7 separate regions of the Homo sapiens genome follow, and regions 1, 2, 4, 5, 6 and 7 are each linked to region 3. The links are contacts of gene promoters, found by promoter capture Hi-C in human tissues and cell types (Jung and others, 2019). All regions are on one chromosome and are shown on one strand. The core of a region is centred on a gene start or on the middle of the fragment in contact, and the rest is flanking DNA. Distances in the headings are between cores, read along the strand shown.

What was found. The method cuts DNA at HindIII sites, captures the fragments that hold promoters and counts their contacts. A contact is called where the count stands out against the background at its distance.
Region 1: a fragment that was not itself captured here is called in contact with the fragment with the promoter of MN1 in region 3 in 2 of the 25 tissues and cell types used here (dorsolateral prefrontal cortex and hippocampus).
Region 2: a contact is called between a fragment that was not itself captured here and the fragment with the promoter of MN1 in region 3, in 3 of the 25 tissues and cell types used here (aorta, dorsolateral prefrontal cortex and mesendoderm cells).
Region 4: a contact is called between a fragment that was not itself captured here and the fragment with the promoter of MN1 in region 3, in 4 of the 25 tissues and cell types used here (dorsolateral prefrontal cortex, mesenchymal stem cells, neural progenitor cells and 1 more).
Region 5: a fragment that was not itself captured here is called in contact with the fragment with the promoter of MN1 in region 3 in 2 of the 25 tissues and cell types used here (dorsolateral prefrontal cortex and lymphoblastoid cells).
Region 6: a contact is called between a fragment that was not itself captured here and the fragment with the promoter of MN1 in region 3, in 2 of the 25 tissues and cell types used here (dorsolateral prefrontal cortex and mesenchymal stem cells).
Region 7: a fragment that was not itself captured here is called in contact with the fragment with the promoter of MN1 in region 3 in 1 of the 25 tissues and cell types used here (dorsolateral prefrontal cortex).

Annotation. Positions count from the first base shown.
Region 1 is chr22:27,187,031-27,189,730 of GRCh38, forward strand. It overlaps LOC105372977 (a long non-coding RNA gene), which reads left to right and starts at 490. Exons shown (of 3, transcript NR_171770.1): 1 at 490-567; 2 at 1,454-1,504; 3 at 1,834-2,185. The HindIII fragment of the contact is 4,365 bases long and covers 1-2,700 here.
Region 2 is chr22:27,147,942-27,150,818 of GRCh38, forward strand. LOC107985534 (a long non-coding RNA gene) reads left to right here. Exons shown (of 3, transcript XR_001755607.2): 3 at 1-1,283. Among named protein-coding and RNA genes, the nearest start is that of LINC01638, 75 kb to the right of the region's middle. The HindIII fragment of the contact is 6,381 bases long and covers 1-2,877 here.
Region 3 is chr22:27,800,472-27,803,171 of GRCh38, forward strand. It overlaps MN1 (MN1 proto-oncogene, transcriptional regulator), which reads right to left and starts at 1,285. Exons shown (of 2, transcript NM_002430.3): 1 at 1-1,285. The coding sequence starts at 72. The HindIII fragment of the contact is 23,630 bases long and covers 1-2,700 here.
Region 4 is chr22:27,169,149-27,171,848 of GRCh38, forward strand. No RefSeq gene overlaps it. Among named protein-coding and RNA genes, the nearest start is that of LINC01638, 54 kb to the right of the region's middle. RefSeq lists an enhancer at 1,022-2,221. The HindIII fragment of the contact is 4,126 bases long and covers 1-2,700 here.
Region 5 is chr22:27,059,169-27,061,868 of GRCh38, forward strand. LOC284898 (a long non-coding RNA gene) reads right to left here and starts at 2,070. Exons shown (of 4, transcript NR_164796.1): 1 at 1,820-2,070; 2 at 941-1,406. The HindIII fragment of the contact is 5,422 bases long and covers 1-2,700 here.
Region 6 is chr22:27,121,574-27,124,342 of GRCh38, forward strand. No RefSeq gene overlaps it. Among named protein-coding and RNA genes, the nearest start is that of LINC01638, 100 kb to the right of the region's middle. The HindIII fragment of the contact is 5,567 bases long and covers 1-2,769 here.
Region 7 is chr22:27,040,801-27,043,564 of GRCh38, forward strand. No RefSeq gene overlaps it. Among named protein-coding and RNA genes, the nearest start is that of LINC01422, 140 kb to the left of the region's middle. The HindIII fragment of the contact is 3,673 bases long and covers 1-2,764 here.

The DNA of each region.
Region 1 (2,700 bases), core at 195-2,694, 610 kb before region 3:
CCACAGAGGGGCATTAAATGTATACTAAGCTTTCCCCTCAATACATTTGGTTTTCAGTATTCTTTCCCATTGTCTCCCAAAAGCTAAAGAAAAGCCCTGGTAATTCACGAATTCTGCATCTGAATTATATTTCTCCAAGGAGTCCTTGTTCTTAGAAGTGGTAGGAAAATACTTCGTGTGATTGTGTAACCTGATTTTTTTTTTTTTTTTTTTTTTTTTGGTGGTGGTGGTGTCGGTAGGGAGATGAGAGGAGCTAGTCTTTTCTAAAACTGTGATAATAATAATGGTCTCACTGCCTACCATGTGTTGAGGGCTTAATGGTATTCCAGGCTCTGCACTGAGCATTGTGCAAGCATCATCTTATTTAACCCTTTCAGCCCTGCTAGGAGATGGCTGCTGGCATTGTCATGTCATAGTGACAAGAAAGCAAATCATATTTTTGTCACTTGCCAAAAACCACACAATTAGAGAGTGGCAGAGCTGGAATTCAGTTTCTTAAGTGCTGGGTCATCTGTGCAGCTTCACTGAACTTCCATCCCACCTTCTTTGGCCTGGAGAGGAAGCAAAGTTAAGCAGGATATCTCTTTCTTTCCTTCTTTCCTTCCTTCCTTTCTTTCTTTCCTTTCTTTTTTTCTTTTCTTTTTTCTTTTTTTTTTATGACGTCTCTCTCTGTCGCCCAAGCTAGAGTGCAGTGGCACAATCTCGGCTCACTGCAACCTCCGCCTCCCAGGTTCAAGCAATTCTCCAGCCTCAGCCTCCCTAGTAGCTGGGATTACAGGTGCTCACCACGATGCCTGGCTAATTTCTGTATTTTTTTTTTTAGTAGAAACGGGGTTTCGCCATGTTGGTCAGGCTGATCACGAACTCCTGGCCTCAGGTGATCCACTCACGTCAGCCTCCCAAAATGCTGGGATTACAGGCGTGAGCCACCGCACCTGGCCTAAGCAGGATATTTCTAGACTCTCTTGAAGCTAGGCTTCTGGATGCAGATTTGTTCCTGCCAATGAGAGGTATTGATGTGAGATTTAGGAAGCTAATGTGAGTCCATCCTCTAGCAGTTTGTGGCTATTGCTATCGGCAAATAGTGTGGTGGTAGTAACTGGAGGTTTTCCTGCAACGGGGACCTCACTTCATTCTCCCACATCCTAGACATCAAGAGGCAGTGGTGTTAGAAATACAACAGCGCCTTGCATCTGGCATAAGTCTGGCAGTAACTGTCCAAGTGCCTCTGCTCTGTGTATTCTGGGAGTTATTCTAGGAGACTTAACCTAGAACTTGCTCCTTCTCTGCTTCCAGTGGTCTTACATGCCCTGGATTCCCTGTGTTAAATCCCTTCCTGCTCAAGATACCTAGGCTGGATTCTGTTTCCTGCATGGAGCCTGGACTGATACATTGGGTGGCATCAGGGAAACCCATTCTAGTTTCTGAGCCTTACTTTCTGTACCACTTGCAGAATCATAGAAAGGCTGTAATGAGGGAGTGGAAGCAAAAGAGCTTTCCAAAGGTAAGTCTTTCTGCAGATATCGTGGCCCGATCAGAAGGTACTCTTCCAAATAGAAGACATGGGATGTAGTTTCCCCAGTAAATGGCCCATACTCACCCGTTACTTTGAAAGCCATTATAGAGCCTGCTACCTAAACAGCTCGCCAAGGACTTGGAGAGCACCTGGAATATGGAACAAGGGGCAGGACAGGCTTTTAGCTCATGTCTGTTTCTGCTCCTCTTCACTCTTGATTCTACCACCTGTGCCAGCTCACCTGGGGGCCTTGCTATGATAGCACAGTGAGGAGCTCCTGACATGAGCTACATAACCCTTGCCCTTCTATCTTACAGGAGACATGGCAGAATGCCCCCAGGAACAGACTCCACCTCACCACTCTTGAGATGTTGCAGCTTCAGGAAGTCTGCAGTGCTGATCAGGGACCTGCAGGATCTTGTTCACCTAACAGAGAAATAGGTCTGAAGCAGACTACTATGAGAATGAAGTCAGCTATCTGCCAGGATGCCTCAGCCACCATCAAGACTTTTGTGTGCAGAGAAACAGGATTTAAGAGGGGAGGGACTGAAAGGCTGTGGAAGCCACTGGGTTCAGTCATCCATTCAATCCACATTTTTTGACCACTCCTTATGTGCTAGGCCCTGTGCTTACACTCAGGATTTAATAGTAAAGAAATTATTGGACCCCATTGGGCTGATAGTATTTCAGGGGAGAGAGACGTGAACATGGTTATACATGAGGGTGATTAGTGTCAAATTGTGGGAAGCAAAGTGGGTGGGGTGTGTGTGCTGTGGAAGCCCAGGGAAACCACCTGATTCAGTCAGGGGCAATCAGGGAAGGATACCTGGAAGAGGTGACACCTAAGCCAAGACTTGATGAGCATATACGAATATTTTTGGCAAACAGTGATGGTGAAGTGAGGGGAAAAATGCTTCTAGAGAGAACAGCCTGAGTGAAGACTCTGGAATGAGAATGAATTTATCCCAGGACTCAGAGATGTTCAGAAGTGCTGAGTAAGGGGTGATGGGGAGAAGAGCAGAGCCAGACCTCACAGGGCCCTGGAGACCAGGCTAAGGAGCATGGCTTTGTTGTGAGGACACTGAGAAACCATGGAACGGTTTTGGGCAGGGAAAGGTGTTACAGTTATTGATGGTTGCATAAATCCATAGAGCTTCTATTTCTCTAATAGACTATTTTTTAGA
Region 2 (2,877 bases), core at 131-2,630, 650 kb before region 3:
GGGATGATGAGGGCAAGTATTCATACTATGCCCCACCCAGCAGGCTTCAGGCAATGAGGAACTATAAGCATGGATGTGAATGTGTTCTGGACATGGAATGGATGATACAAAGAGAATGGATACTCAGGTGCCCAGAGAGCCCTGGCTTTGTTCCTGGAAGTGGTCAGATAAAAAAACCAAAAAAAAAAAAACAGTTTGGATGTGGAGTCAGGAAGAACTAGGTTCAAATATTACCTTTTCCACTTAATCAGTGCCTGACCTTTGGCAGGTAACTCTACCAACCCTTCCACCCGCCTTTTGTAAATATTCACAGAGTGAGGGTCATGTGCAAGATACAGAAGTCAGTCTGGATTCAAATAGGCTCTGCTGGGGTGACATGTAGGAATCTGCACAAGTGATTTGTCATCGTCACCATCATCATCACTGAGGCACAGCACACATATAATACAATGCATAAATCTAAAAGCAAAACCTGAAGAATTTCTGCATGTGCATAGTGTTGTAGACTAAATTGTGTCCTCCCACCCCCTGAAAAGTTATCTATTGAAGTCCTGACCTTCATAACTTGGGAAAATGGCTGTATTTGAAGACAAGATCTTTAAAGAAGTAAAGTAAAATGAGGCCATTAGGGTGGGCCCTAATCCATTTTACTGATGTCATGCACGGATGCATGTGTACAGAGGAAAGGCCATGTGAGGACACGGCGAGAAGACGGCCACCTGCAAGCCAAGGAGAGAGATCTCAAGAGAGACCAAACCTGCTGGCCCCTGATCTTACACTTCCAGCTTCCAGAATTGTAAGAAAGTAAACTTCGGTTGTCCAACCTACCCAGTCTGTGGTATTTTGTTATGGTAGCCTGGTCAGACTAATACACATAACCTTGTGTAACCAGCACTACGATTAGGAGCAGAATATTTCCAATAACCCAGCAGCCCCTGCCATCATGACCTTCTCAATCTTGCCCTCTACCCCCAGAAGTAATCATTGCTCTGATCCCTGTTATCATCAACTAGTTCTGTCCATTTCTGAACTTCATATAGGTGGAACCATACAATATGTTTCCTTTGTGCCTGGCTTCTTTGACTCAGCATTCCATTTCTGAAATGCATCTTTCCTATTGGGTGCAGCCGTCATTCATTCTTTTTCTTTGCTGTATAATATTCCACCGTGTGACTTCATCACAGTTTGTTTATCCATTTCCCCATTGATACACATTTTGGTTGTTTCTATTTTTTAGCTCTTTTGAATAAAGCTCTTATGGGCATTCTTGTGCAAGTCTTCAATAGCCCTGCACACTCGTTTTTCGAGGGGTATATACTCAGGAATAAAATTGCTGAGTCACAGCTTAAATGTATATTTAGCTTTAATTAATGTTAGAGTTTGTGCTTTAACCTTTCCGCACCTCGCCTTCCTCATCCGTAAAATGGTGCCTGACACCTAAGGCTGTTACGAGGATTAAATGTGATTATCTATGTAAAGTATGAAGAAAAAAGCTAGATGCAGAATGATATGTAGGGCTAGATACCATTTATATAAAGTTTAAAAACCTGCATGAGCAACACGACATAATGTTTATGGATACATAATCGTGTAATAAACATTTAAAAACATCTATTGGCATAATAAACTCCAAATTTAGGCTGGTGGTAGGAGGATAGGAGGGAAAACTGAGATTAGGGTTGGCACACAGAGGGTGATTCTATCTGCAGTGTCTTGTTCAAGAAGAAAAAAATCTGCAGCAAAGAGACCATAAGGTTAAGATTTTTAAAAGCTGGTGTTTATGATATTATCTCTATCTTTATCTGTATGTTGGAAACACTTTTCATTAAATCAGATACATTATTACTAAATATATAATATTAATCTACAAAATATTAATACCATGTAAGATTTACATACTGCCCAGGACACAGTATGCAAATGAGTTCTAGTTATTGTTATTATTAATACTAATTGCCTATTGTATGCCAGATTCTACATCCAAGGGCTCTGGCATGCTGGGTGAATCACACCTAGAAAACTAAATCCAATCCAGACACTGTAGATGCAGCTGTCGCATAGTGCTTGGCTCAGAGTAGGTTCTCAGGAAACGCGAGCTTTTGTAATTTTCTTAAAATGCTCGAACGTCACTAAGCATGCTGGCTTTGGCTAAACATGTCAGCCCTTCTGGGTGTCCCAATCTAACCAAACCAACAAACAAAGAAACCCAGAAAACCAGGCATTGAAGGGAGTCACAGAATACTGCTCCTAGCTTAGCCAGAGAGCCTGGCCCGGTGAATGATTCCATTTCTCTGGACACACGCACAGAGTACCCAACAACCAGGCTGCTCATGACAACGGGCTCCAGCTTTAACAAATGTAGCACTAGCACTATTTATTTTCCAAACGTGGTTGAGTTTCGACTCAAGGGGATGCAGTTAGGAAAAATAATGACCAGGAAACACACACACACACAAGCACACACACACACATGCACACACACGCATGCATGCACACATTGGCTCACACAGAATAAGACAACGGCAACCAGACTTCCTGGGTTAGGAGGGGCAGGAAATGGAAAAGATAAACATAAAGAAAAGGAGCTTCTTTTGTATCACTTTAAGAGGAAGAAAAAAGCCCATCAGGCATGCATGCGTGTGTGCGCATGTACGTGTGTGTGCATGTGCGTGTGTGTTGAAAGGACAGCAATTGAGTGAAGAGGGAACAAGTGTGGTTTGCTTAGAAGACGAGGGGACTTCCTTGACACCAGCCCATAATCCAGCCACCAAAAAGGTGCTTTCTGATTTGCGTTGCACAAGTTGGTTGATCATAATAAGCACACATTTCATTTTAATAATGTATTGGGCAAGAACAAGGGTTCCTCAGCCCCATTAA
Region 3 (2,700 bases), core at 35-2,534:
GTTAAAGTTCCTCTCGCCCTGGCCAGCGTTCCTGCTGTTGACCTGGGGCTCGAATTGGTCCAGCCCAAACATACTTGGCGGGGGGCAGAGGGGGATCAATAGGGCATGACAGCCGGCTCTCCGCGGCGCGCCTCCGGCCAGCTACTCGTTCCAGCCCAGGATTGGGCGCTCCGGGACGCTCAGCACCGCGGGGGCTCAGCGCGCACCTCCACCCCGCCTGATGTGAGGGACGGGGGGCGGGGTATTAGCTCCTCTCCTGAAGCTCCGATTCTGCCCGGGGAGGGCCTCTCACATCTTGCGAGGCCGCGGGGCCTCTAGGAGCCGTGTTGGGGGGCCCATGCCCCGGGCGGTTGTCACAGCCGCGGGTGGGTCTGCGGGGAGGGGACGAAGCCGCGGATGAACGGAGACAAAAAGTTAAGTGGGGGGAATGGGGAGGGAAGGGGGTTGGGAGAGCAGAGCGATCACCTTCTCAAGTCCGATTGGGTCTGCTGGGGAGCCCTCAGGACGCCGCCCGCAGCCTCCCGGAGTCCGTGGCAGAGCTGCTAAGGGCAGGGGAGGGAGACCCTTCAAAGCCGCGGCTGGCGCCGGGCACCGACAGAGCGGTCCCTCCCCCCGCCCCCCGGAGTCCCCGCGCCCCGCAGCCCGAGCCTCCACCGAGCACGATCCGCTCGCACAATCCCCGTAGGCTCCGGGCGAGCGGCTGCTGCTTCTTCAGCGGGTCGGAGGACTGGAGGCTCCGCTCGGCATCGCCGGTGCCGGCCCCCGAGCCGAGGACGCAGAGGGGCTGCGAGGCGGCAGGCGCCGGGGGCTGGAGCCGAGGGTCGGGGAAAGGCGCGGCTCCTCTGCTCGGCAGCGGGTGCGCTGCGTTCGGCGCGCAGCTTCGCGGCCACGTCCGCCGCCTGCCGCTTCTGTTCTCCGCCGTTGGGTGTCTGAGTTCGCCGGAGTCTCCGCGCACCGTTGCAGGCGCGGGAGGGCAGCGAGACGAGGGGTTGGGTCGCTCCAAGGCTCCGGTTCCCTGCCTCCGCGCTGAGGTGCTTCGCGAGTCCCTCTCGGACCTGAGGGAGGGGGGCGTACGCGGGTCGGGGGGCCACGCCGGGCGAGCAGGCTAAGGCGTTCCCGCTGCGCTCTCAGAGCCCGGAATGGGGGGAGGGGGGCGCGGGGGCAGCTCTGGGGGGTCTGCGCACCCCTCTCCCGACTAGCGGGGGGGCTCTGCGTGGGGCGTTCCGAGGGTCTCGGCTCCCCTCTCTGTGTCTGCCTCTCGCCCAGCGCCGGGAGAAGCAGCAACAAGTTTTGCATTTCAGCAATCAATTTCAGCCATTACATTTGCACCAATCAGCGCCGCCCAAGTTCCGGGCTCGGGGCGGGGCTCGCTCTTAAGGTGGTCCGGGGTCCTGGCTGCCGAAGCCCCCGCCACGAACCCGCACTACCCCAGCTCTGGGGTCCCCTGCGCCCGCCTCTCCTCGGGGTCCGGCGTCAGTGCGCTGGGGGCGCGCCCCGGCCTCCGGGCGCATCGAGCTGGAGAGGGTGCAGGCGGAGGAGAATGGCGGGAGCTTGGCTTTGTTCACCCCCTTCCCATTCACACTGTTCCCAACTCCCCACCCCCAACTGGAGCGAGACCCACCGGGTGGGCAGGGGGCGGGGAGGTGGGCGGTGAGCGGTACGGGGCGCTCAGACAATGAGGTCGCCAGGCAAAGACCCTAGACTCGCCACGGAAAGTCGCTAAGTGTCTACTGCACTTCGGCTCCGGGGTGAACACTCCGTTCTCCGCTAGCGGCGCCCAAGTTAGCCGGCCCTGGGATTTTCTTGGAGGGTAAAGCAGACGGGGAACCTCGAAGTTAGGGTTCTCCTCGAGAGACCTGGGCGCTTGCTCACTCCTCCGTCACTAGGGCGTTCACAATTGTTCCCCTTCCCCACTGCCTGGGGTTCCCGGTTCTCACCGGCCGGCGTGGGCTCCAAGGAGTCACAGTCACTCAGCCACTTTATGGGGGAGCACATCGGTTGAGCCCAGTAACCGGAGCGACTTGCGAGGCGGCTGGGAACCCCGAGAAGACACGCACGAAGAGGGCGCACCCGCCGGGCCGCACACCTTGCCCTGGGCCACCCGGTCCAAGACCCAGACCCTCTGCGGGTGCGAAGTTGGCCTCCTTAAGAGATCAATTAAACTGAAGAGGCCGAGGAATGGAATTGGGCTGTGATACTAAAATCAATAGGAGTAATTTAATATCTGCCCTGCTCTTTATGAAATATTTATCCCAATAATCTTAGTTAAAATGTTTAGATCGTCCTGATCCCCACAGAGGCTGAAATCTATCTTGCAATTAGAAGTTGGAAGTTAGAGGTGATGGAGGATAGAGGTGTTTATTCTGTGCGCCTGTGTGCGTGTGCTCGCGCCTGCGTGCGTGTGTTTGTGCATGCGTGTGTGTGTGTGTGTGTGTTCCTCCCTAAAGTGTGTGTAGGGAAGGAGGGGGGAGAAGGCCTTTAATTTTCCTTGCCATAAAATAGCACGAGGCGATTTTGCTAGCAGATTCGCATTCTTAGGAGAAGGGCGAAAAAAGAACTTTCTTTGAAGTGCCCCTGATATCGCTATTAAATCTAAATAAAATTAAGCGTGGTGTATGAAAATGCCTTTCCCCCCCCACAAAAGAAAGTGTTTATCGCCCGAGTCTGTCTAGCGTTTGCTAAATTACGCATGAAATCTGA
Region 4 (2,700 bases), core at 100-2,599, 630 kb before region 3:
CTTTCTCAAAGGAAAGTGGACATTATTCCAATATTTTATCTTCTATAAAATTATGTCAAATAGTCTTACATAAGCCATGATTGAGCCACCTAGAGCTGTTTTCAGAGAGCAGCATTCTACACATGTTTACTCAACACTCTAAGGAGATAGAGAGACTTCTGGTACAGCAGTTACGATAACAAGTTCTTCCATCAGTCTCTCTGGGTCAATTGCCTCACTCCTCTCCCCATCCCCCATCAGCTGTGGGATGTTGAATTAATGCTCTCAGTTCTTGACTTCTGTGTAGGAAGATGACATGTTCACACCTTTGCTGGGGCTTCAAGGTGTGGGGACAAATATTCCCCCAACCCTTGACTCTGGGCTTGAACATGTGGTTTCCTCTGGCCCATGGGACCTTGCCTTTTGCCATGAGTAGTTGTAGGTCCAAGGAGGATGGGAGATCAGTGGAGAAGATCTGGGGCTGAGCTCAGTCAAGACCAGTCTTGGAGACCCCCATTAACTCCTACATGCATGAGGGAGAAGTCAACACTTGTTTTCCTCCAAGATGTCTATGGTCACGTGTCATGTAACATTATTGTGGCCATACCTGACTGATACTTCAACTGTGTGACCTCTAGCAAGTTATTTAAGCTTCCTGTGCCTTAGTTTCCTCATTGGTAAAATAGAGAATAATACTATATTTTTCACCGTAATCAATCTTTCAGAGTTGTTGTGAGAATTATCTGTCATATAACACAAGTAAAGAATTGAGAACAATGCCTGGTTTATAAACGTCCAATAACTTTTGGCAAGTTAATATCATCATCCCTAAGTGACTCCATAAAAGCTGCTGATTACATTGAAGTAGCAATTTGGGGTAGACACCAATCAAGATCAAAGTCCAGCAGTAAATCAGTAGGTAGATAAATTTTCATGTTTGCAAATAATAATAGCACTTGCTGAACTCTTGTCTTATGCCCAACCCTGAGCTGAGATTACATAAGTTTTCATCTTGCTGAATTCCCAGAGCTGGGCTGTGAGGTAGACTTTACTGTTAACCTGTATTGATACATCAGGAAACTGAGAATTGGAGAGCTAGTTCACCTAGTTTGGAAGTGATGGAGCTGGGATTGAAACTGATGGAAACTCCAGGATCCATATCCATAAGCTCCATACTCCACAGCTGAGAGTTTATAGATGAGGAAACTGAGGCTCAGAGAAGGGAGATGCCTTGGCTGTGGTCACACAGCGGCTACTTGACTGAATCAGTTTCCACATGATCTTGTCAGTGCTGTAAGATGAAAGGCATCTCAGAGGGTGGCCCAGAGACAGAGAGAGGGTCTCCATTTTCCAGCTTTATTTCTGGGTGTCCAGGAATGTGTTTTGAGTTGGACTTGAAAAAGAAACTCCCTTGACATCAGAGAGGCAGTACTGGGCTGGGCCAGTGTGTGCCAAGGCTAACTGGGCATGCATTCCTGGACCAACTGCTGGAAAATGTGCAAACGTGGAAATATTTCCCCTGCTGAGTTCTGTAGTGTGCCGCTGTGGAGGCCTGCAAAGCTTGTCAGCCATGACTCACCCCTTCCACAAAGTTGGCCTGGTCATTTCGGGTGAGGACCAGGAGCACACAAGGTTGAATTGGATGTTTATGGCTCCCAAGGGACCCATCAGACGTGCTGCCTGCCTCCCATCTTCTTTCTGGCTGAGTTTTCAGAAATGTAGGTTAGGACAAAGTCCTGGAAGGAATAACAGGAGAATAAAGGGAGTGTATTGATAGAGTGCCTACTGCATACCAAGCCCTGGTTGAGCAGTTCTATATGTTATAAACTTGCTCTTTGAAGGATGATCCCAGCAGCATCAACATCCCTGCAGAGCCCGTTAGAAATGCAGGATTTCCAGCCCCATTGTAGACCTGCTGAATCAAAATCTTCGTCTTTAACCATATCCACAGGGGGTTCATCTACAAATCAGCCCTGTTAAAAATCTCATTGCATTCCCTCCAATGCAAACATGCTGACCCCCATTTTACAGAGGGAAACTGAGGCTCCGAGCAGCCAAGACTTGCAGAAGGTTCCCCCAGTGAAGGAGAGGCTGCACTGTCACCTGCAATGTGTCTATCTATCCCAGAACCCAGGATCTTTGGGGCGCATTACAAGCAAAATGGCTCAAAGCCCTGCGGTTGCAGGACCATAATAAAGAGGAGGGATGATATTGTGGAAAAAGCTTTTCAAAGTCAGCAGTTTATGTCTCAGCTCTGCCATTATCTTGCTAAGCCATCTCCCTAAGGACTCAGTTTCTTCATCCATGAAATGGGGGCAGGCATCAAACCACATGGCCTCTGCAATCATTTTTAGCTGGGAGATTTTGATTTGAGGACCCAGAGGATTGGTGGTGCTCAGGGTCTCTCCCATCTCAACATAAGGTTGAACCACACCCAACCTCCACTTTCCAAGAGCTTCCCAGGGGCCTCTCCCATTCCCCAGTCAAACAGAACTGCCCAACCGCCTCAAACGCCACACAAAATCACAGGCAACAGGGCAGAAAACCCAATTATCTCAGCTGTTACACTGCTTAATTTAATATTTCCAACGAGTTCCTTGAGTCTGCTTCTCAAGAATGAAATGCATATTTGGGCTCTGTCACAAAACATTACATTTTGTCAAGGCAATCCATTTTGCTGCGGTAATTTGTAAGTGTGCAGCGCTCTCCCTCATCACCCCA
Region 5 (2,700 bases), core at 183-2,682, 740 kb before region 3:
AGAGGCAAAGTGCTGGTGATACTTCCTCCATCAGCTGATCATGGTTTGCCTGACAATATTTCATTCAGTCAATAAGTGTATAAGCCTAGCACATTTATTGGTATCACTTAGCAAATATGCCCATGGTGTTTACCTGTGGAAGTGGACAGCTAGATTTCTAGCTGAGTGGTTCGTGAATTCACCTGGTTTAAAAACTCTCAGGAAGGGCTGGGCTTAAAGTTCCACCAAAAAACTGCCCTAGGCTCAGGACCTGTTCTTTGAACACCATCAGTCATATAGGAGGCCATTTACATCCAAGATGGAATAAAAACCAAGATGGCACCCTACAGAGTAAACACCAAGATGGCGCCTTACAGAGTAAAATCCAAGATGGTCACTATGGAACCAAAGGTGGCCATTTGCACCCATGGGCTACTGAGGTTGCGAGTGGCAGGACATAAAGTAACTTGGAGGCTAAGCCCACAGCCCTGGAAGGGCCAGAAACTGTAGAGAGTGACCTATGGATCCTGGAACACCAAATGACCCCAGGGCTGAGAACCTGAGCCCCAAAATACTTGATTGCCCCATCAGAGATCCCACAGAGGGAAAGACGCCCAACTTCCTAGCCAGCATGAGTATGGATGGTGAAGGGTAGATTTTAAGCAGGACCACCGAGGCATGAGAGAATTCCTGTTTCCACTTGCCATTTTCCAGCTGGGACATTGTTAAACACCACTTTCTGTTAATTAAGCATTTCTGAGAGGCTTACACTAGATTGCTGGCAAGAAGTGAACAAAGCCTGGCTGACCTGTCTTGTAGGTACTTGGAGGTGTGTGAGGGAAAGGGGCAGGAATGTGTGGCACAGGCAAAGTGACAACACTGTCCAAGAAACAAATTGCCACCTTGGGAGCAGAGAGACGATTGTTCCAATGATCAATGTTGGAAAACCAAAGGTACTCACCCATATCTGGCCTCGGCCTGGCTGCAGACATAACCTGGAGAAAGCAATTCACACTGATTTTTCCCAGCCCTGGGATCCACCTTCAGCCTGGGATCCAGGCCTTCGGTAATGAGCAGCCCTGGCGAATGAGGTTTGGAGTCGAAATCCATCTGAGGGCTCTCTCCCTGCCAACGTCTACAGCTTAATAATTGCTTCCTCGCTCCTGCTACATTCAGGTTCAAGAGGAGCGTGAGCCCCTCCAGCAGCATTATGCAAATAGGGCCCACTCCGTTCCGGCGGCATATAGAATATGTAAATTTATGGCGGTGGTGGAGGCTGTTTAAGACAGAAGATTTCTCAATGATGAAATTAGATTTTCTGGAAAGAGGCTTCCGAGGACCTGTCTCCGTTCCTCTGCCTCGTGCTGTGCTGTAGCCACAAAACCGGGGCTCTGGGAAATAGTTAACCGAATTACAGTCTCAAGCCTCTTTAAAAAAAAAATAAGGAAAGAAATAGACCAGGTTTCATGAGGCCACAACAAATTCATACTTTACAGAATGTGTAAACAGGAAGGGAGGCTGAGTGGGAGGGAGGGAGGCTGTTGTGGAGCATGGGCTCTGGCTAGCAGGAGGCATTAATGCAGAGCAGAGAGGCTACAGCATCACCTTGGCCTTCACACCTGGCCCTGCGGAGCCTCCAAGCAGGGGGACAAGGATGGGGAGAGTGAACAGAACCGTGGGTCCTGGTGGCTGCCTCACCCTTAATGCTGCAGCTCTGATCTGCTTCCTGTGCCTGCCTTTTCATGAATTTGATAGAAGGAAGTATTGATGTCATTTCAAAAAATGCAAAATTAGCAATCTAGACCAGAGGTTCTCAAACTTGAACATGCATCAGACTTACCAGGAGGGCTTGTGAAACACAGATTACTGGATCCCACTCCCAGAGTCCCAGAATTAGTCCATTCAGGGAGGGCTCGAGAATTTGCATCTCCAACAAGCTCCCTGGTGACGGCTAATGCTGCCAGCCCAGGCAACACACGTTGAGAACCATGGCCCTAGAGTACTGTTTTCATTTGACAGACGGGGGAAATTGAACCCCAGAGAATTAGGTGCTTTGCCAAAAGTCACACAGTGGAGTCAAGGCCCAGGTACGGATCTACCTCTCTCCACCATTTTTGTCCTTGGTCATTGTCATCATCATCACCATTGTCACTGTCATTTGCTAAGACCTTTCAACATGCTAGGCACAGTGCTAGGCACATGTATGCCTTATTCATTTAGCCTTTACTGCGGTTCTACACGAGAGCTGCTGCTATGATCCCCACGAGGATCCTGAGGTTCAAATTCAAATTGCTTCACCTCTTGAGCCTCAGGTTTCTTATTTGTAAAATGGGGAGTTCTCATCCTTCAGAATGTTGGGAGGATTTAATGAGATTTTACACTTAATGTGCTCAGCACAGAGCCCAGCAAATGGAAAAGACTCAGTTATTAGATATTATAGTAATAATAATAATAATTATTATTAGTCAAGTTGTGGGGATTAGGAAACAGAGTGAGGTTATGAAGTGAGATTAAGGATTAAGAATATAAAGATCTTGATTTCAGTCCCTAGTCCTAAACTCACCTGCTGTAAGACTGGACAGGATGGCGTCACCCCCATTCTCTAAGGTCCAGCTTTTGTGAAAAGGGGTGGAGGCAACTTAAAGGTCCCAGGTTACTTTCAGCTGTAAAATTCTCTGATTCCATAATTCCAAGATTGGGATAATTTATCCCCCTCCCCAC
Region 6 (2,769 bases), core at 248-2,747, 680 kb before region 3:
TTCTGCATCTACTCCACTACAACCTGGTCCAAGTCATCCTCTCTCCCCTGGGTGGCTGAAGATGCTCTCTAACTGACCACCCAGCTTCCCGTCTTCCTCCCACCCCAATAATCCACACTCCATTCAACAGCACAGTGATCTTTGAAGACATAAATAGAATCACAGGATGCCTTTTCACTGGACTTAGAAAAATGTATCCAAGCTTCTTGCTCCTGATACTGCAGGGCTTGGTCTCTGCCTTCATCTCCATTCTCTTGTCCTGTGTCGGCCTCCCTCCCATTTCTCAGGTAGGATAAAGTCATTCCCATCTCAGGGTCTTCATGCAAACTCACTGGCCCCCTACCTCCAGCACTGTGCCCACGTCTCTTGCAGAGGCAATCCCTACTTCTCATTCATGTCTAGCCCAAATACCAGTCCCCAGAGGGACCTTCTCTGACCATCCTAGCCCAAGCCTAACTCTTTCTGGCTCATTGCATCCCATCACTCAGTTTTATTTTCTTTGTAGTCCTTATGTAAAATTATTTCATGTACACATAGATATTTACTTATTTCCTGCCTGTCTCCTCTTGCTCCAGAGTGTTTACACGAAGGCAGGGATTTTCTTTTTTTTTTTTTTTTTTTGAGACGGAGTTACTCTGTGGCCCAGGCTGTAATGCAGTGGCATGATCTTGGCTCACTGCAATCTCCACCGCCTGGGTTCAAGCGATTCTCCTGCCTCAGCCTCCAGAGTAGCTGGGATTACAGGTGTGAGCCACCACATCTGGCTAATTTTTGTATTTTTAGTAGAGATGGGGTTTCCCCATGTTGGCCAGGCTGGTCTCGAACTCCTGACCTCAGGTGATCCACCCACCTCTGCCTTCTGAAGTGCTAGGATTACAGACGTGAGCCACTGTGCCCAGTCGAAGGCAGGGGTTTTGCCTGATGTATTCCCTACTCTATCTCCAAGGCTTCACAGAGGACTTTGCACATAATAGGTGTCCAATAAACAATTGCCGAGTGGGTGAATGAATAGTGCTTTGCACCATTCCTTGAAAAGCCTTTCATGAGCGGCTCCTGGCTTCTTTTTTCCTGTGACTACAATTATATATTTACGAGGTAATCAGCAATCGAAAAGTTCCCCGTAATAGTAACTGGAGCTTAACATACAAATAAACTGAACACCATTAAGGACGTTTTGTGGCCACCGGGGTGGATCAAGTGAGCTAATCGCCCAACTCACAGCAATTAAGTCAATTAACCATTTAGACATATGCTGAGCCATTTCCCGGCTCCAGTTTCCCGGGGCATCTGTGAAATTTGTGCGCTTTATTTATGGCCTGAGCTTCTGGTCGTAGTTAGTAACTGGGATGACTGGGGAAGTGAGAAAAGGTGGCTGGTTAAATTTTTAAAAAGTCAGTGTGATGGCAAAGAACGAGAAGCTGGACCTTTTCCCTCTGTGGACGCTTTCTCCTCCTTCCTTTCCTGTGTGCGGAAAGGATGGGAAAGGCAACTATTTCTTGCCTCGATTTTTTAATTTTGTATGTTTGGGGCTGCTTTTAACACCTGTGCGTGTCATGAAGGGAGATAGAAAAAAAAAGGCGGGGGGATGAATTGGGTGGGGGCGAGGGGTAACTCCTTGGGACACAGACTCAGATCTGGGTTCAAGTCCTGACTCTGCCTCTCAGGAGCTGAGCCTGAATTTCCTTATCTGGGAAATGGGGAATTACAGAGCCTGCCTCAGAAGCTTGGGGTGAGAATTAAAGGGGTGGACAGTGTAAAGTCCTTAAGTAGTGCCCGATGCAGAGAAAGTGCTAAATATGGGGTAGTTATTATTTGTGATTTTTTTTGAAACAAAGTCTTACTCTTGTCACCCAGGCTGGAGCGCAGTGGCGCGATCTCAGCTCACTGCAACCTCCGCCTCCCGAGTTCAAGCGATTCTCCTGTCTCAGCCTCCCGAGTAGCTGGGATTACAAGCGCCTGCCACCACACCTGGCTAATTTTAATATTTTTAGTAGAGATGTGGTTTCACCATGTAGGCCAGGCAGGTCTTGAACTTCTGACCTCAGGTGATCTGCCCGCCTCGGCCTCACAAAGTGTTGGGACTACAGGCGTGAGCTACCGTGCCCAGCCTTTGCGATCATTATTATTGAAAGACTGAAGAAAGGGAGGCAGAAAGGGCCCAGAGACTGGGGTCAGACACGATTGTTGCAACCCCAGCTCTTGCTGGCATCACACTGCCACATACAACTAACTTCACTTCTCTGGGCCTCAGTGTGTGTGCGCATCTGAGAAATGGGACTGATAATGCCAGGAGGGGTCTTCACAGGAAATAGGTCTGATGCTTGCAAGGCTCTGGCCTGTGATCCTCTTCATCCCACTGGTTTCTTCTTTGCATTTTTAAGAAGGAATTCAAGGAGCTTGCCCCAGGTCTCCAAATAAGTTACATAAATGGAGCCCAGGCCTCCAATTCTGATTTCAGAGCAGCTTCCACCCTGCCTTGAGGCACTTTACAATCATGTAAAACAAAGCCATTCTTTAGAAGTGAGGCATGTTCCCAGAGATAATTAGTATGTATAGATTGGATGCTTTTGAAAGTACTGCATAAAGCCTTTCATGGATATTATGTAATTTAAACCTTACAAAGAAACCCTGAGAGCATAGAAAAGGCTCAGGAAAGGCAGGTAACTTACCCCGGGTAACACAGCCTGGAAGTGGCACAGTCAGGATTCGAACCAGGCTCTGGCTGAGTCAGACACTCATACCCACTGTGCTCTCCTGCCCATGGCATGT
Region 7 (2,764 bases), core at 63-2,562, 760 kb before region 3:
AAACAATGGGTTAAGTAAGGGGGAAGAACGGAGCGTGCTTCATAGGGTTATTGTGAGAGGTAAGCAGGACAATGCATCTGAAATGCTTAGCACATAGTAGGAACACCAAATCTATTAGCTTGTTTTCCTCTTTCCTTGGGGTAGAGCTACATTTTGTGCAATATGCATCACACTTCCATTTGCTCTCTGACCAGTATAAAAATTAAAATATATATATATATGTATATATTCACACACAGATATATATATTCATCAAGAGAGACTAAATAAAGAAGAAAACTATGCTCACTGGCTAGTAGAAAGATCCGTCACTACCAAGGAATATGTTTTGGTGTATGTGGGGACAAAAAGACATTCTGTGGTTCAATAGGTTAGTAAGCCTTGCACTGATAAAAGTAAATGGGTGTCCATCCTGGCTAACACGGTGAAACCCCGTCTCTACTAAAAATACAAAAAAAATTTAGCTGGGTATGGTGGCGGGCGCCTGTAGTCCCAGCTACTTGGGAGGCTGAGGCAGGAGAATGGCATGAACCTGGGAGGTGGAGCTTGCAGTGAGCAGAGATGGCACCACTGCACTCCAGCCTGGGCGACAGAGCGAGACTCTGTCTCAAAAAAAAAAAAGTAAATGGGTGTCTTTCCCATAAGGTAGGTTGACCCTTAGCATGAGATGTGCATTGCAAAGCAACAAGAAGAACTTAGATATTCGGTGTTTTCTTTTTTTTTTTTTCCCCAACCTATGTGGCGGTGAATGCTCTGTATGGGGCATCTCTCTGGACTAAGCCTCTAGGGCACACTACTAGGGGCTGGGGCAGGGAATTAAAAACTGCAGTAGCCAGTCTCTAAGAGCTCCTCTAACTCGTGAAAGTTGATGCCTCTATTTTAGCTGTTTCATTTGCCTTTTTTTTCAATAACTCCTCTACGTAACTCTTCTTCATTTTTGTCTGTGCTTGTCTTGATGCGGTTCACAATCATGGTTTTATTGACCTTGTTTTCGTGTTACAAAATCACTCTGTGTTTGTGATTTGTTTCATGGTATTTCTCAAGAAGTGGCTTCAATCCCCTCTGGGATAGGCACATTACTATGTACCACAGGGCAGGCCAGGCTGCAGGAGGAGCTTGCAGTCCTGGAGGCTTCTGGCTCTCCTCTCACCCCGCTGCCCGCCCCTCAGTGATTAGTTGGAATCCAAGACAGCAATACAAGATGTGTCGTTGGTGGGAGTGATGGAGTGCCTGCTGAGTGGGCCGCAGATAAGCACCGTGATTTCGGAGGACGCTTCATCATTTCGCCGTAAGAACATGTTAACGGGTGATTGTTTGAATGTCTCCAGCTAATAGGATATTATTCATAACACTCTGGCTAGTTGGAATGGAAGATGATAAGAAATTAAATCCTTAATGGCTTTCTTTAAGGGAGGACTTTTCCCAGGGGAACCAGGAACCCTGGGAAATCGCTCCATGTACCCTGGCAATATCTATACGGAGAGAATTGGCTTTAAATGAACCTCTGAGGGTTACACAAAGGGTAAAAGAAAGAGAACAAAAAGCAATTGACATTAACCGGGTCCCTACTACGTGCCAAGTACTTAGACATTTTACCTACATCACGTTACTTCATCCTGGCCCTGTCTCTGTTGTGACAAGGCACTATTAAGCTCATTTCAGAACTGGGAAAACTGAGGCACACAGAGGTGAGCTGACTTGGCCAAGGTCTCATTTCTGGTGCTGGAGTCACGATTTACATTCTAAAGCAATATTCTTCTCGTGAAATGAATTATGGAGAGAGAAGTTGTCTGGGAGAAGTAGCCCTCACATGCAATTTGAAAGGTGGAGAAGCCATAGTCGCATAGAGGTAGCTGCAGCAGGTGCAGAGGGAAGGCGAGGGTTGTGCAGGTGGCTTCTATTGATGCCTGGGAATCATCTATTTCCTGGATACCTGCAGCCAACATTACCCATGAATATTTCCTGCGGTCCCTGAGCTTCCGCATTTCCTGGAAGCTTTTCTGAGCTTTGCTCTCCCTGTCTTTCCAACAAGTAAGGAAGCTTCTGACTCTATGTATCAAATCCCCTCCTGCTTGAAATACTGAGAAGAATGACAGAACCCTGCTTGCAAAGTACCCTGCGTAAGCATTACACACATGCATGGCACACACACACACATACTCAACTCACAAAGGTAAATTCCCAAGAATAGAATTACAGGTCACACATGTTGGGGACATAAGATATTACAATGATAACAGTAACAGTATGGTTTTTTTTTCCAACATGGAAACCATTTCTGGAACAATTTCTACAAGCCTGGGAAGAAAGAGACCACACTACTTTTTACCAACAACTGCTTTTTACACATAATGAAATCCTCCTTCTAGATAAACAGGACAGAAATGGTGGTGAAATTCTTCAACAAGCAAGATTCACTTTCAGTGGGAACTCACCATAGCAACTGGCTGCAAATATTTAAAAGTGAATGCGATTTTTGTTTGTTTGTTTTGATTTTTGCAGGGTACAAAATATCCAATATGTTCCCAGCCTCCCCACTCTTCTTCCTTCAGGTCTCATCAGCTCCCACAGTGAAAGCCAGCTTGGTTTTCCATTTGCAAAGTTCACAATTCACCCAGCCATGAGCTGTGCCTTTAACCACTGGTAAATTGTTTCCTGACAGCCCTTGCTACAATTTTCTCCCCTGACATTTGATTTACATATGATCTTTAAGCACTGCCATGGCGGTAATAGCGATTTGGTTAATATTCCATGCGCTCCCCCA